Regions from separate parts of the Homo sapiens genome. Here region 2 is linked to region 1. The links are contacts of gene promoters, found by promoter capture Hi-C in blood cells and fetal thymus (Javierre and others, 2016). All regions are on one chromosome and are shown on one strand. The core of a region is centred on a gene start or on the middle of the fragment in contact, and the rest is flanking DNA. Distances in the headings are between cores, read along the strand shown.

The links. Contacts are between HindIII fragments. The CHiCAGO score rates a contact against its expected background, and 5 or more counts as called.
Region 2: a fragment that was not itself captured here is called in contact with the fragment with the promoter of SCUBE1 in region 1 in 2 of 17 cell types (activated CD4 T cells and total CD8 T cells); the score reaches 5.6 in activated CD4 T cells.

What each region holds. Positions count from the first base shown.
Region 1 is chr22:43,341,458-43,345,561 of GRCh38, forward strand. SCUBE1 (signal peptide, CUB domain and EGF like domain containing 1) reads right to left here and starts at 1,915. Exons shown (of 22, transcript NM_173050.5): 1 at 1,717-1,915. The coding sequence starts at 1,804. The HindIII fragment of the contact is 3,211 bases long and covers 490-3,700 here.
Region 2 is chr22:43,216,650-43,220,753 of GRCh38, forward strand. It overlaps SCUBE1 (signal peptide, CUB domain and EGF like domain containing 1), which reads right to left. Exons shown (of 22, transcript NM_173050.5): 14 at 3,801-3,938; 15 at 1,606-1,809. Among named protein-coding and RNA genes, the nearest start is that of SCUBE1-AS2, 6.0 kb to the left of the region's middle. RefSeq lists an enhancer at 3,598-4,099. The HindIII fragment of the contact is 1,141 bases long and covers 1,280-2,420 here.

The sequences.
Region 1 (4,104 bases), core at 665-3,164:
CCACTTCCCAGGGGCCAGTATGTAGGAATGAGGGGTGGGAGCCCCTTGTGCCCTCACCCCTAATCTCCCACCTAGGCAGGTGTCTTCACTGGAATGGAAATGGATGGATGTTGATGAGGGGTGGGTGGAGCTATCTCCCAACACACCTTTAAACACTTGGGTGTCCTTGGTGTGGAGTGTGGGGAGAGGACATGGGAGTTTGAGGAGAGAGAGGGAGAAGCCACTTGTCCCCATCGGTTCTCTGCCATGCTCCCGCTCCTGTCTGGGCTGGAGACTCCCCTGCAGGGCGACCCAGCCCTCCTAGCACAGGCTGCTCCCTTTGACTCTGGTTTGCTTATGCTGGGGACATGCTGCTGGGGTTTCACAGTCACAGGGCTTCCACGGAGAGGGTCGTGGAGGAGACAGAGTCAGATACAGAGAGACACGAGGAGGGACACAGGTGGGGATAGGCACGCCCAGGAACAGTCACTCAGAGGTGAGGGACCCCAAAGCTTGGGAGAGACACCCACAGACACAAGGGGGATGATGGGGCAGCAGGGCTGGGCTTCCAGGAGGGGTGTTGCTGTGGAAGAGTCTCACAGGCCCAGCATCCTCACTCGGGGCACGCGGGACCACCAGGAATAGACCCTACGCCACCCATACCAGACCTCAGGAAGCCGGGAAGGACGTGCAGGACCCTCCCCCTGCCTCCCCCTCCAAGCAGAGCACCGGAGGAAGCGCCTCTGATGACGAGGAGGGGAGAATGTGACTCCAGCTTTTCGGGAAGCCCCTGAAGACAGAGAGCAGGAGGGGACCGGGTGGGAGGGTGGGGGGGTCCCCGTGAAACCCACGGGCCTGGGCCTGTGGCCTCCGGGTCTCCCCCTCCCCTTCCTGGGTCTGCTCCACCGACGTCCCGCGTCCGGACTCTCCTCCCTGTGTCTGTCCTCCGGATCCTCTGCCTTCCTTCCCTCTGTCTTTCCTCCCCGTCCTGTCAGACGGTCCCGGTCCCTCGTCTGCGGCTTTCCAGGTATCTCTGTCCCTCTCTCTTTCCCGGTCTCCCTCTCACCGCCCCCCCCAACCCCGTTTTTCTGCGGCGTCCATCTGTCCCCCGTCTCCTCCTCTCTCTCTCCCTTATCATCGGTGGGACCATCCCTCTTGATTCCCCCTGATCCACCGGCCTCCTCCTCCTTCCCCGGGCGGTGCGGGCCTCCTCTCTACCCTTCCGCATCTGTCTTTTCTCCGGGCTTCCTTTTGTCTGCTCCCTCGGCGCCGGCTCTTCTGTCCGTCTGTCCCGCACCTCCCGCCCCGTCCCGGTCTCTCGGTCCGTCCCTTTCCCCGTCCACCTCCTGGCGTGTCCCCCTCCGCCCGCCCCGCCCCGCGCCCCCTCTCCCAGGAGGAGCGCCCCTCTGCGCTCGGGGTCCCGCCCCGCCCAGGTCCGCACGCGGGGTCCCCGGGAACCGCCGCCTTTCTTCCTCGCTCCCGCGCTCGCGCTTCCCCTCCCGGGGCCCCGGCCCACCCACCCCTGGTGCGGCCCCGCCGGACTCAGGAGCCCCGGCCGCCCGGGCTGCGGGGAGGGGGCGCCCCGGGCCGGCCCTAGAAGTTACTTTGCAAAGAGGCAGGGGGCGCGGGGCCGCGCGGGGCGAGCTCGGGATCCGCGGGGAAGAAGCCCTCCGGGACCGCGCCTCGGCCGCCCGAGCCCCCCGCGCCCGCCGCCCCCCACCTCGGTCGGGGGCTTACCTGGGAGCCCGCTGCCCCCGGCCAGCCGCCCGCGTGTGCCCAGGGCCAGCAGCACGCACAAGTGCCAGCGCACGGCCGCCGCGCCCATGCTCAATGCGGGCCCCGCTGGGCGTGCGGGCGTGCGGGGCGCGGGGACCCGACCGACCGGCCGCTCCCGCAGGCGCTGCTCGCTGCTCGCCGCTCCGCCACCGCTCGGGCTCCCGAGCCGCCCAGCCAGCCCGGCTGATGAGCTGACAGCGCGCGCTCATTGGCCCGTGGCGTCGGAGGGGCGGGGCGTCGCCCAGGGCCGGCCAATGGGCGCCGGCCTCCGGCCCTCCGAGGAAGAGGGGGGCTCGGGCGTCGTCGGGGGGACCCTTCCCCTGGGGCGGGCGGCAGGTGGGGGGTGTGGGCCTGGCCGGCCGGCTCGCTAGGCGCGGGGTCTAGGCCAGGCTGGGGCTGCTTGGAGGCTGCGCCCTCCCCTGCCCGCGGCGCCCCGGCCCCCGCCGTCGAGAGTGGACGCCCCTCTGGGGTAACCCCTCCCGGCCCAGAGGCAGCCTCGGGGGCGGGGATCCTGCGAACCGGGGATCCCGTGAGGTCGCCCGCCATCCGTGGGCAGTGAAACGCGCCAGCGCGCAGAGCAGACTCGCCTGCGCTGCCGTTTGCTGGACGTTTCTTGAGCACCTACTGGGGACCGAGTGCGGGCGAGGCAGCAGCGAAGGAACCGGGAGGGGAAACCTCGTGAAGATCACTTGAAAATTGACGTTCAAAACAAACGAACTTTTTAGCACTCGTCAAAGGACAGTGGCCCGTCAGTGTGCTTGTCACGGGGCGGCCGCAGGACCTGCGTCTGGAACCGGGCGGGCGCCCGGGACGGACAATGCCGCTTGGCGGTCGGTCCCGCGGGAGGCCCCCGCACGGGGCTAACCTCGGCCGGCGAAGTTCGCTGCCCGGAATGCGAGGCCGAGGCCTCCCCCTGTGACAGACCGGGCGGGGCCAGGAGGAGGGGCAGGGCGGGCATCCCGGTCCGAAGACCCAGGAACTGCTCTGGCCTGGCCTGGGGTCTACACCTGACGCCTGGCGAGGGTTGGCTTCGGGTCTGGTCCCACCGGGCCTGGGAGGGACGGGCGGCTGGAAATAAATGGCCCCTCTCAGTTCCAGGCAGGACGCTTTAAGGGACGAAAGTTCAGCAAACCCCAAGGCCCATCTCCTTGACAACCACCAATAAGAGCTCCTTTTTTCTTCTCCTGCTCTCCAGGCCCAACTCAAAGACAACTCTTTTCTCTTTTTGTCCACTCTGCCTGCACCAGTTTGAGCCCCTCCACACCAGCTCCCTTTCCTGCCCCCAACACACACACGCACACACACACACACACACACACACACACACACACACACAGTCACACATGCAGACACATGCTCTCACGTGCAATCACTCAGACACAGCCTCACACCCTCACACCCTCCAGCACACACACGCTCACACATGCTTCTTCACGCCCTCATCCAACCTACCGTAGACGAGCTCCTCAGCCCTGGAAGGTTAAATCTGTGTCCAGCCAGCTCTCACACCCCATCTGACTTCACATCAGCTTGTGGCACGGGCCTGGTGGCTGAGGCAAGGGGTCCCCTACATGGGGATCGGGGGTGTGGGGGGTCCAGAGATGCCCAAAGAAGAAGGAAGCGCTGCCTGTTGTCTCCACTGAGCCCCCACCCCATTGCTCCAGACATTTCGGTCTGCACGGCTGCTCCTGGCTGCTGGTTTAATTTGGGAGATGCTGTTGACAGGCTTTATTTTGTCCCCGTCAATTGTGTAGCTTTGAGTTTCTGCAGGGGGTGGGGAGTTCCCTCAGAACCACATATTATCTTGTGCATTGGGCAACAGGGCAAGCAGTGTGAGGTGGTGGGGGAGGTTCTTCCAGGGGGCTCTGACCTACTTGAAACAATGCCCTCTAATGTGCCTGGTCATTAGGCACCCCCCCGCCCAGCCCTAGCCAGGTGCCCCTCAAGCTTGATGGCAGCAAGAGAAGCTTCTTCCAGGCTCCATCCCCACAAATCAAGGCAGGAATGGAGGCAGGTTACTCTGTGACCCCTCAGCCCAGAGGTAGCTGTCCCTTGTACCAAGTTGTAGTCCCCAGCCTGCCCCCAAGCGATTGCTCAGGTCAAGTTTGCTGGTGAATTATCACCCTCTAAGGTGTGCAGGCAGAGAGAAAGTGGTTCCTTCTAGGCAGCTGTTGTCTATGTGGAGGACTCAGCGAGCAGAGGAGGAGGGAAATGGAGAGAAGACACACCTGTAAGCCCCTCACAGGTGAAGGAAAGGAGGCGGCCTGTGGAGCAGAGAAAGAGGAGGTCACTTCTGCCCCAGGGCGCCGTCAGGGAGGCCTCTTAGGACAGGTGACCTGGGCTAGACAC
Region 2 (4,104 bases), core at 600-3,099, 120 kb before region 1:
CAAAAATAAAAACAAACAAACAAAAAAAGAAAGTAGAAGATGACATCACCAAGCTCCCTTTGTCCCCCCTTGTCAGTACGGCTGTCCCCCTCCACTGTCTGAGCCAGAGTCCCAGCTTCCCCAACCTGGCCCTTCCCCTGCCAGGTGTCATCTCTTTACCAACAGCTTCCCCGCCCTCTCCAGGTGTCACCTCTTTATCAACAACTTCCCCCCACCCACCCCCCGCCAGGTGTCATCTCTTTACCAACAGCTTCCCTCCCACCCCCACTGCCAGGTGTCACCTCTTTTCCAACAGCTTCCCCCAACACTGCCGTCACCTCTTCTCTAACAGCTTCCCCCCACCCCGCCAGGTGTCACCTCTTTACCAACAGCTTCCCCACCCCGCCAGGTGTCACCTCTTTACCAACAGCTTCCCCACCCTGCCAGGTGTCACCTCTTTACCAACAGCTTCCCCCAACCCCCACCCCCCATCCGCCAGGTGTCACCTCTTCTCCAACAGCTTCCCTCCTCCCCCGCCAGGTATCATTTCTTCTCCTCCGGCTTCCCAGTTTACACCCCTGGCCAACCCTATTGTTTGAGGCTTCGGACTTGTGGCTGCAACTGCCCATCCAACATCTCCATGTGGATGACTTGTGAGCGTCTCAGACTGAACATGTCCAGCCTGCGCACCCCATCCCCGCAGCCCACTCTTCATCAAGTTTCCCTCCCCCCAGCCCACTCTTCCTCAAATCCTTGGGGATTTGGCCGGCGTCAGGAAGCGATACCACCTCTGCCCAATTGGCCAAACCCTTGGAGTCGTCCTTGAAGTCTGTCTCTCCCTAGGAGCCCCCTCCATCTCATGCTCCTCCCCGTCCTTGCTCCGCCCCCGCTACTCAGCCTTCCCGTAAGAGCGCGCATGAGCCTGCGTCCTTGCTCTAAGCATTCCTATGGCTCCCCATCCAACTCAAGAGTGGTGTCTGCCAGGCCCCATCACCTCTGGCCTCACTGTACCTGTGGGCATGTTCACTGGCCCACTGTCCATCTTCCGCACGGGCATGTGAGCTCCACTAGAACTAGGACTGTCTCGTGTGCTGGTTCTGCCTGTCCTGCGTCCAGGCTCTCCCCTCCAGCGCACACCCGCCCGCTGGGGGCCGGCCTCACCTGCTTCCCTGCAGCACGACGCTGCCCTCCTGGGCGGCCCTAGGCCTCACGACATCCCTGCTCTGTCCCCCGACCCTGACTCAGGCTCCCCAACTCCTGGAGCCCTGAGGTCTTAGCTAACGTGACTTCTCCTCCAGGAAGCTTCCCTGAACCACATCCCAGACTAGAGAGGGCCTGTTCTGGTTCCCGTGCCCCCTCGCGCCCCTCGACTGTGGCCTTGCTGTCCTGTCCACTCCTTGTCCCTCCTCAGACTGTGATCACATGCCCGAGGCCCAGCACAGAGGAGTGCTCTTCAAATGACAGTGATGACCATGAGGGCTGCAGTCCTTCTCCCCGGCAGGCCTCTGCATCTCTCTGTCCCCTCCCCAGGTGTCTGTCTCACCTGCGTGCCCACCACTGTTTACCCCGGCTCATGTGCAAGGAAGGACAGAGTCAGCATCTGAGTGGCCATGGGCAAGGACTCACCGCATTTGCTGTCCTGTAGCACCTGGCCTGCGCCACATGCCCCCTGCCCCTCCAGCGCCTTGGCTGGCCTCTGGGCTACCTCGTACTCAGTGCCTGAGACCTGGACATAGAACTGCTGCCGGCCGATGGACTTGCGCAGGGTCTTGATGGCGGCCTGCAGGCTCTGTTCTGCTCGCTTCCGCAAGCAGTCCGCTTCGCATGTGTCTGCAGGGGCAGGAGAGACAGAACATGAATCGCTGGCAACCTTGCTAGCCGCTGCCTTCTTAGCTGAGGGCTCCCCCGTGCCAGGCCCTGCACTGGGCTCGGACCTCCTCAGCACATTCTCACAACAGTCCTGGGGCAAGGGGCCACTGTCATGCCCATCTGACAGATGAGGAGGCTGCGGACCTGGGAGGCAGGGCCTGCCCACGGCCACGCAGCAGATCTGAGTGCAATCCAGGCAGCTGCCACTGCACCACATCACCCCCCAGGGTACGACTCACGGGGCAAGAACGCCTTTCTGTCACTCAAAGACTCTTGGGGACTGCCACTGTCCCCAGGATAGTGTCCAGCTCTCTGGCCTTGAATCCAAGGCCCTTCAAGGTCCAGCCCCGTATGGCCTTGCCAGCCTCATCCCCTCCACTCTGACACTCCCTGTGGATTCCAATGTCTAGCCACCTGGCCCTACTTACTGCTTCCTGGACACCTCCTCCTCTCTCTGACCTCTGTGCCTTTGCCTATTCTATTCCCTCTGCCTGAATGCCATTCCTTGCCACCTTTTCCACCCAGTGAGCTTTGATTCTAAGCTCTCATTCAAATGGCACCTCTTCTGGGAAAGCTTCCTGATATGGTTTCAATATTTGTCTCTTCCAAACCTCATGTTGAAATCTGATCCCTAATGCTGGGGGTGGGGCCTGGTGGGAGGTGTCTGGGTCATGGGGTAGGTCCCTCATGAATGGCCTGGTGTGGTAGTCAGTTCTTGCTGGCTCTACTAGTCGCCACGAGATGTGACTGGTGAAGACATAGGCACCCCCTCCCCTCTCTCTTGCTCCCTTACTCTTGCTATGTGATGCCAGCTGCTCTTCACCTTCCTCCGTGAGCAGAAGCAGCCTAAGGCCTCGCCAGGCAGATGCTGCTGCCGTGTTCTCGGACAGCCTGCAGAGCCGAGAGCCAATAAGCTCTTTTCCTGATAAATTATGCAGCCTCAGGTGTTCCTTTTAGCAACGCAAATAGACTAAAACATTTCCTTTTTTTTTTTTTGAGATAGAGTCTCACTCGTCGCCAGGCTGGAGCACAGTGGCGCGATCTCAGCTCACTGCAATCTCTGCCTCCCAGGTTCAAGCGATTCTCCTGCCTCAGCCTCCTGAGTAGCTGGGATTACAGGTGCCTGCCACCACACCTGGCTAATTTTTGTATTTTTAGTAGAGACAGGGTTTCACCATGTTGGCCAGGCTGGTCTTGAACTCCTGAACTCAAGTGATCCACCCACTTTGGCCCTCCCAGACTGCTGGGATTACAGGCGTGAGCCAGTGTGCCCAGCCAGACTAAGACATTTCCTAAGCCCTCCCGTGGGGGGCAGACCTCAGTTCTATGCATTGTTTGTTCTTGTGCCCCCACCACCGAGAGTCCCACCTGGCAATGGGTGGTTTGCACGTGCGTCTGCCTCTCTGGCTGAGAGTGTTACCTGGGTGGGGACTTTTCTTTCCACAGCGCCCAAGCCCACAGCCAGGCCCATACCACACTTATCTGCTGACAGATCCCATCTCTTCAACATCAACGACTCACAGGTTGACACTCACATATAGCCAAGAGCAAAGTGCTGCTGTGACACCCGAGCCAGCATTAGAACCTCCTTCAGGAACCAGGAAAGACAATCCTTGGCTCAACCATTCTAGGGGGGCTGCACCTATTTGTCCTCCCGGGTCCCAGCAGGAGTGTGGAGGGGCAGATAAGGGTCATGTGACTTTTGAGGTCACCTCGGCTCTTCTGTCTCATTGCCCTGGGCTGCCTCTTCTATCCTGGGCTGCAAGCGTTGACCCCTGCCAGCTCCCTTTGCTTGTGGGCCTGCCTCTGTCTCCAGAAGCTGGGCTCCCATCCCAGCCACAGCTGTGCTCTGGTGGGAGCCTAGCTTCATGCCTGGCAGGCCCCCGGCAGCGCCACCAGCCTGTCGTCCTCCTTCAGGCCTGCAGAAGCCCCCAGGAGAACCCCTCACCTACCTGAGGCCTCTTCCATCTTTGTCTCGATCTCAAACTCTGCTGTGATGTGGGACACCTCCTTGGATGGGGACTTGCGGCCACGGCGCCTCTTCTTGGAGGAGTCACACTTGAGGGTCACGAAAGTCACATGGCAGTGGTCTGGACGAGGAAAGGACCACTGTGGCAAAGGCGGCATGGGGCAGGGAGCAAGGTCCTACCAAGCCCTGCATACAGAGTGCCATTGGCAAGGACTTCCTGGTCCGTGGTGCAGACGGAAAAACTCAGGCTAGAGAAGGTCAGGGCTGGCTCGGGGTCTCAGGAGGGG